Regions from separate parts of the Homo sapiens genome. Here region 1 is linked to region 2. Evidence: promoter capture Hi-C in 16 types of primary human blood cells and fetal thymus (Javierre and others, 2016). All regions are on one chromosome and are shown on one strand. Each heading gives the region's core, a stretch centred on a gene start or on the middle of the fragment in contact. The rest is flanking DNA. Distances are from core to core; before and after follow the strand shown. Region 1 overlaps VPS53 (VPS53 subunit of GARP complex). Region 2 holds the start of NXN (nucleoredoxin).

Region 1 (4,080 bases), core at 853-3,352, 420 kb before region 2:
AAACCACCGCACTCCAGCCTGGGCAACAGATTGAGACCCCATATTAAACAAAAAGAATCTGAGCAACAAGGAATTGGAAAATAAAATTTAAAAGCAACACCAATAATACATCATTATTGGTTCATTAATTGTAACAAATATTTCATATCAATGTTAATAATATGGGAAACTGGGTAAGTGGTATATGGGAACCATACAAACGATCTTTGCAATTTTTCTGTAAATGTAAAAGTATCCTTAAAAGTGTAGTTTATGTTTTTTAAAAACTATTTACAATAGCAATTCATAACATCGTTCTGTGGTTTGATTGTGTTCTCCAAAGTTTATGGGTTATAAGCTTAATCCCTGAAGCCACAGTGTTGAGAGGTATGAGGTCATGAGGGCTCTGGCATCATCATGGGTTAATGCCATTATCTCAGGAGTGGGCTCTTTTATTCCTTCAAGAGATCTTTATTAAGCACTTATTACGTACCAGGCATTGTATTTGGTGCTAATGAACAGAGGTGAACAAAGTAGACTTTCTGGCATGTAACTTAAAACTAATGGGGGCGCCAGATAATAAGGAAGTAAGCCAGCCGAGACGTAACTTCGGTTTTGTGGTGTTAGGAAATAAATTTGGCAGTGCTGGAATAAGGGAGCTACCTACTGAAGGGGGGTGGCCAGGAGGGCCTCTCTGCTGAAGGGGGGTGGCCAGGAGGGGCTCTCTGAGGAGGTGATACTGAAGCGGGGACCTGAGGCTTGGGGAATGAGACTGCCAAGTGAGAAGCCACCACACCCGGCTAATTTTTGTATTCTTTTAGTAGAGACGGGGTTTTGCCATGTTGACGAGACTGGTCTTAAACTCCTGACCTCAAGTGATCCACCCTCCTCAGCCTCCCAAAGTGCTGGGATTATAGGCATGAGCCACCGCGCCCCCACTCTTCTGGAAGCTCTGAGGAAAAAACTATTTACACCTCTCTTCTAGCTTTGGGTGTTTGCTGGCAATCCTTGATGTTCCTTGGCTCATAGAAGTCTGACTCCAGCCTCTGCCTCCTTCTCACGGCCTTCTTCCCTGTATCTCTGTGTGTTCAATCTCTCTCTCCTTTCTAAGGACAACAGTCATTAGATAAGGCCCCCCACCAATCCTAAATCCAGGACCATCTCATCTTGAGATACTTAATTACATTTACCAAGATAAAGTCACATTTACATGTCCCAAGGCCTAGGACTTGGACATATTTTGGGGTTGGGGGGACACTTCAACCCACTATATCTCCCTGGGTCCTCTTGAGATGACACTAATAGTCTTTGATATTTTTCTTGCTTTTTGTGTAACATGATGTTCTGATTCATCTTGTAGATTTCCTGCCCTTGACCTGGAATTAGTCATTTCTCCAGGAATCTCTGGTTTCTTTTAGTGGAAAATTGTATTTAGAGATCACAATAAAGGTGCTAAGAATGTATTACTTTTGTAATCAATAAAAACAATTTTCACTAAATAAAAAATAATTGGCCACTTGTATCATCAGTCATCAAAATGGTCTTCAACTTATTTCTAGAACTTCTAAGAGTCTGTTCTAGAAAACTAATGCAAAACATTTAAGATGCTATATTCAGAAAGACATTCTTTGTAAGGATTATCTTTTTTTTTTTTTTTTTTTTTAGAGACAGGGTCTCACTCTGTCACCCAGGCTGGAGTGCAGTGGTGTGATCATAGCTCACTGCAGCTTTGACCTCCCAGGCTCAAGCGATCCTCCAACCTCAGCTTCCCAAGTAGCTGAGACCACAGGCATGTACCACCACACTCAACTAACTTTTAAATTTTTTGTAAAGACCAGGTCTCACTATGTTACCCAGGCTGGTCTTGGACTATTGGCCTCAAGCGATCCTTCCACCTTGGCTTCCCAATATGCTAGGATTACAGGCGTGAGCCACTGTACCCTGCCAGGATTATCTATAAAAGCAAAATTTTGGCTGGGCATGGTGGCTCACGCCTATAATCCCAGCACTTTGGAAGGCCAAGGTGAGTGGATCACGAGGTCAGGAGATTGAGACCATCCTGGCTAACACAGTGAAACCCCGTCTCTACTAAAAATACAAAAAATTAGCTGTGTGTGGTAGCGGGTGCCTGTAGTCCCAGCTACTCACAGTGGCTCACGTCTGTAATCCCAGCACTTTGGGAGGCCAAGACGGGCAGATCACAAGATCAGGAGATCGAGACTATCCTGGCTAACACAGTGAAACCCGGCCTCTACTAAAAATAAAAAAAAATTAGCCAGGCGTGGTGATGGGAACCCGTAGTCCCAGCTACTCGCGAGGCTGAGGCAGGAGAATGGCGAGAACCCGGCAGGGGGAGCTTGCAGTGAGCCGAGATCGTGCCACTGCACTCCAGCCTGGGTGACAGAGAGAGACTCTGTTTCAAAAAAAAAGCAAAATTTGAAGCACTATAAACAACGATCAGGGATGCTTGCTAAATAAGTTATGGTACAAGGCCGGGCACAGGGGCTCACACCTGTAATCCCAGCACTTTGGGAGGCCAAGGCAGGTGGATCACAAGGTCAAGAGTTGGAGATCAGCCTGGCCAAGATGGTGAAACCCCATCTCTACTAAAAAAAAAAAAAAAATACAAAAATTAGCCGGGGATGGTGATGGGCATCTATAATCCCAGCTACTCAGGAGGCTGAGGCAGAAGAATTGCTTGAACCTGGGAGGTGGAGGCTGCAATGAGCCAAGATCATGGCCACTGCACTCCAGCCTGGAAGACAGAGCAAGACTCTGTCTCAAAATAAATAAATAAATAAATAATTTATGGTATAGTCCCTTAAAGAGAAATATTATGTGGCCATAAACAATGATAGTAATAATGACCCTGTAATGATAGTTATGATTATTACTATCATTATAATGACAGGAGAAATGCTAATGCTATGTATGACACTAACAATAAAAGGATATAACAGTGAATTAAGATTGTAACATTCAAAACTATGTCTATGAATAACAATTGAAAAAATACCCCAAATTGCTAATATGATTATTTGAGGATGATGGGATTAAAAGGGATCTTTATTTTTTTAAATACTACGGTTATTTTACCTTTAAAATAGCATATTTACATGTATCGTATTTCTTTCTGTGCACACCCAAAATAGTTAAACAGTGTTTCTTCATGAAAGAACTCTGGAACCCCTGCCTTGGAGGTCCTTACAGATAGTGCCATCTTACCTGGGGAGTGGCCTGGGGCTAAACGGACTGCTCTGTGGCTCCAAGGCCAAACCCTGGAAGGTCATGACCTTCGCAACTCAACATGACCAGGTCCCCAGGCAGAGTGTGCTGCTGCCTCTGCCTCTGGCTGGCTTATGTGCCACTGAGGGGCCTTGGTAGACACACTTCCTATTTGACCTGCTATATTGCTGCCCTGGCACACAGGAGCTCCAAGCTGGGCTGTCTGAACTATCATTTATGACTGTCTTCTTGTGGTCTAGGCATCTGTAAATTATAAATACAAAGTGGGTAGAAGAGCAGAACCTTTCCAAATTACTTTCTTTCTCTTGGCCTCAGGGGAATCCCAGACCAAGTGTGAAAAGGACTTCTAATTCCATGTTTAAGGCTGAATCAAAGGTTATTCTGGGTCTTCCTTCTGCTCCATCAGTTGCTGAACTATGGCCATGTGGGGGCCTCCAGCAGAGGCATCACCCTTTCCTGTCCCCCAGTTCCTAAACGTCAGCATCCCAAACAATGGCTATTTGTTGAGGCAGATTGAAAATGCCATGTAAATTTCAGAAGACACATAAAAGCCCAAAGGATTCTGCTTAACTTAGTAACACTTCTGAGCATGGAATAACTGGCTGTGACTCATCATCACCAAAGGCTGGGTCCTAGCACAGACAAGCTTGTTACTGCTTTTCTCATATGGGTTGGAGTGCTACTGACCTACTTTTAACAGGTCATGCCCTTTGAGGAGCTTACACAACTCCAGGGAGGTGACCAGTCATACTTTCTTGCCCAGTCTTCTTTTAACAAGGCCTTTCTGTAAGACAGCTGCCTGGGCAGCCTTATGGCTGGACACTGAGCTTTCCTCTGTGGCAGGCCAACTGGTCT
Region 2 (4,119 bases), core at 312-2,811:
TCAAAAAGGGAAAGGGGCTGGATTCACACGTTGCATCATATACACTCACGAAGCAACAGCGCTCCAAAACTTTTTCTGACTCCATTCATTACAAAATGTCCTGGATGTGCTTTATTATCACAGAGACAGACATCCTCACCCAAGGGACACACTCAGAAACCCAAACTCAACTCGGCAGCAAACTGGGAGACACGAGAAGTTGACAGCAAAGTATCCATTTCCCCAAATCCTCCTTCTTCCAGTCAATGTGCATCGATGGGGTCAGCTCAGCCCTTAACTCGAAGACCCCGGGACCACAGGGGCCACCACGCAGCTGAGCTCTGCACAGCCCGGGCTGTTCCCGCGCCCGGGAGGCGTCTGGGGAGGAGGCTGGACGGCCAGACAATGCAAAGCTCCCCGGTGGCCGCGAACTCAGCCTGGGGCGGGGGAGGCGGGGGCGGGAGACGGAGCCGTGAGCGCCCTTCTCGGCCACAGCCACGGCCACGGTCACCGGCCGCCTCTCCTGACCTCGGCCTCGGCCCCCAGGTCCCCGGTCCCCGGGGAAGGGGCTCCGGGAAGGCAGGTTTCTCCCGGAAAGAAAGGAAACGCGCTGGTTTGGGCGCCACGGGCGGGGGGCGTGCGCCCTCCCCTCCCCTCCCCTCCCCACTGTGGGAATCCGCGGGGGTCGGCGGCGGAGGCAGGAAGGGCCTGGCGCCTCTGCTCGCGGGTGAAGGGGTCGCGGAACCGGGATCCCCGAGCGCAGCCGCCCCCACCCGAGGCTCCCAGCGTGTGCGGACGGAGGGGCTCGAGCCGGGATCCCGGGGGCCGAGGGGGGTCCAACTTTCCAGGGCGGGCGCAGCGCAGCACTCGAACCAAAGAGGGGTCCTGGGATGAGGGTGCGGGCACAGCGCGGAAGGGGGGGGGGCAGAGGCGGGGACGGCGGGGTGGGGGGCGGGGAGAGGACAGTGGGTCGGGGGGCGGGGGACTGGGGGCAGGGGTCGGGGGGTGGAGGGCGGGCAGGGGGACAACGGGGTTGGCGGAGGGCAGGGGTAACGGGCGTGGGGGGCGGGCAGGGGTAACGGGCGTGGGGGGCGGGCAGGGGCCGGCGAGGCCCGCGCCGCTCACCTTCCTGTGCTTCTCCTTGTAGGGCAGCGCCAGCCACGGCATGTCCCGCACGAAGTCCTGCCACTGCCGCTGGTCCTGGTCCGAGGACACGAAGACGATCTCCAGGCGCCGCCGCGGCTCGGGCTCCGCCGCCGCCCCGGCCCCCGCTCCCGGCCCCGGCCCGGCCGCCGCGTCCCCCCGCAGGCGCCCGTAGAAGGCGGCCAGGCTGGCGCTGAGCTGCGCGCAGGGGGCGCTGAGGCTGCAGCCGAAGTAGAGACCCAGCAGCGAGATGCCGCGGGCGCCCAGCGAGTGCACGTCCACCTCCTCGCCGCCGCCCGTCACCAGCTTCTCGCCGAGCAGCTCCTCCAGGAAGCCCGACATCCTGGCCCACCGCAGGGCGGGCAGGCGGCTGCGACCCCGCTCCACGGTCCGCGCGGCGGGAGGAGGCGGCGGCGTCGGCGGCAGGCGCTGGGGAGAGCAGAGCCCGGCCCAGTAGGGCCGCCCACGCCACGCCCCCTCCGCCTGCCCGCGCCACGCCCCTTCCCCCGCCCTGCCACGCCCCCTCCGCGGCCCGCGCCACGCCCCTTCGGCTGCCCTCGCCACGCCCCTCCGCCCGCCCTCGCCACGCCCCCTCCGCCCTCGCCACGCCCCGTTTGCGGCCGGCGGTGGCCAGAGCTCTCCGCCCAGGCGGGGTCCGCAGCTGCCGGCCGCGGTGCGCGGGGTGACTGCTTGGGCGAGAAGCCGGACCCGAAACGCCGCACTCTCCCTGGAAAGCCCACGGCCGAAGTGAAGAAAGGAGAAGGGCCCGCTGAGCCGGCGCTTTCCCGGGCTGCAGCCCGGCCCGCATTTTCTCTCCTCCCCAGTTCTAAATTCCCTCCAGACCTCCAGGGATCCCGCCCCCTCCCCGCGGAGCTCTTCACCCTCTTCCTGTTCCTCCCCGGCCTTTCCCTCCTCCTCTCCCTGCACGAAGCCTGACCCTTAGGCCGCTCCGGGCCCCACTGACCCTGAGATGCTTATAGGACCCGCCGTCCTCACTGCATCAGGCCGGGCCTGGCTGGACACTGACTCCTCTGTGTGTTCCAAGCTGTTCTAAGGGGGCCGAGGACGCCCTCGCAGCTTCTGGTGGGGTCTGGTTAGGGTGCCAGGTCTCAGTGTGGGATTTCCGTCCAGGGGTCGCCGGGGCCTCTCCCCCCAGCGAATCTGTCTTCCAGCCCCACAAATGGATGCAAAGGACGCCGCGGGGCCTCCAGACCAATGCTGGCCGCGCTCCTGAATCCGCTCCATCCTCATGTCAAGTCTATGGATAGTTGAGAACATTTCTAGAGATTTTTTTTTTCCTACCAGCTGGCAGGATGCTCCCCAATGCTTAGGGAGAAGCTGGATTAAACAGGTGGTCTGGGCCGGGCGCGGTGGCTCACGCCTGAATTCCCAGCACTTTGGGAGGCCGAGGTGGGTGGATCACAAGGTCAGGAGTTCGAGACCAGCCTGGCCAATATGGTGACACCCCCCCCCCGCCTCTACTAAAAATACAAAAATTAGCGGGGTGTAGTGGCAGGCACCTGTAATCCGAGCAACTCAGGAGGCTGAGGTAGGAGAATGGCGTGAAGCCGGGAGACGGAGGCTGCAGTGAGCCGAGATCGCTCCATTGCACTCCAGCCTGGGCAACAGAGCAAGACTCCGTCTCAAAAAAAACAAAAAAACAGGTGGTCCGTGGCGAGTACTCTGGCCACGCAGCGCCTCCCCCCAACCCAACCCACTGGTGCACGAAGCAGGTGCAGATCCGGGCCCAGCCACAGTAACAGGCCGCCGGTGTGGATCAGCTACTGACGACTCAGCGAAAGCAAAAAAATAAAAGCTGAAAACCCGCCCCTCTCAGAGCTTCCACCGCCGCTTCGGAGGATATTTCCTGTGCATCCATCGCCACCTAATGGAAAGAGTGAAAAATGAGGCCGACCAAACTCCATTTGTGAAAAGACACTGCCGGGACACCAGGCACAATGCTTTTATTTTACAGCAGCTTTCCACATACACAAATGATAGGACGCTTTGCGGGAGCTAATTTAAACCTCAGAATAGAACTTCAAGCTTTTGGCACAAAACGTAAGTGTTCACATCGAAGGTTCTCCGTTTTTCTAGGGTAGAATAAGGAATGGTGCAGGGTTCCAGCTTGGTGAAATGTTACCATATAAAACAATTGGGAGAGGTGGAGATGGGAGCGGAAAGTGGACTGGCGTCTCTACAAGTTATATCCACTTCCTTAGTCACCTGCTGGTATTGCTAATGACACAGGTAAGATCTTAGATGGAGGACCGCCTTCGAACACCCTAGAATCCTACTGCAAAGTCGAATTCCACCTTAATTCTCAGGAGACTTTCATGCTGAAAGTCTGTGCCACTGTAGGGACAATATTATAAAACACACACAGAAAGCATCACTTTTTAGTGAAAACTTTATTTATTTATTTATTTATTTATTTATTTATTTTGAGACAGTGTGGGCGGCAGGCCACCCAGGCGCTGAGGCAAGAGACCGAGGACACAAGCCGTTCCAGTGTAATAAAATATAAAATAAGAATAGTTATACCAGATATAGATCTTAGATAGGCTTATATATGAATATCATTAATCATTAGTTTGTAGCAATTACTCTTTATTCCCATATTATAATGATCCTCGCTCTATAATCATAATCTAGGGAAAACCAGGCCATACAGAGATAGGAGCTGAGGGGACATAGTGAGGAGTGACCAGAAGACAAGAGTGCGAGCCTTCTGTTATGCCCAGACAGGGCTACCAGAGGGCTCCTTGGTCTAGCGGTAACACCAGCGTCTGGGAAGACACCCGTGGCCAGGCGGACTGTGGTGTAGCGGTAGCGTAAGTGTCAAGGAAAAACACCCGCTACTTAGCAGACCGGGAAAGGGAGTCTCCCTTTCCCCGGGGGGAGTTTAGAGAAGACTCTACTCCTCCACCTCTTGTGGAGGGCCTGACTGCAGGTTCGCCCACAATTATCCGGAGGCCTAACTGTCTCCCTGTGATG

What was found. The method cuts DNA at HindIII sites, captures the fragments that hold promoters and counts their contacts. A CHiCAGO score of 5 or more calls a contact.
Region 1: a contact is called between a fragment that was not itself captured here and the fragment with the promoter of NXN in region 2, in 1 of 17 cell types (M2 macrophages). The highest score is 5.7, in M2 macrophages.

Annotation. Positions count from the first base shown.
Region 1 is chr17:556,235-560,314 of GRCh38, forward strand. The region is part of intron 15 of VPS53 (VPS53 subunit of GARP complex); the gene reads right to left. It overlaps LOC124903891 (a long non-coding RNA gene), which reads left to right. Exons shown (of 2, transcript XR_007065571.1): 2 at 1-106. Among named protein-coding and RNA genes, the nearest start is that of VPS53-AS1, 36 kb to the left of the region's middle. RefSeq lists an enhancer at 3,767-4,080. The HindIII fragment of the contact is 3,534 bases long and covers 336-3,869 here.
Region 2 is chr17:978,215-982,333 of GRCh38, forward strand. NXN (nucleoredoxin) reads right to left here and starts at 1,562. Exons shown (of 8, transcript NM_022463.5): 1 at 1,105-1,562. The coding sequence starts at 1,464. RefSeq lists enhancers at 475-1,410, 2,835-3,129. The HindIII fragment of the contact is 5,276 bases long and covers 1-3,166 here.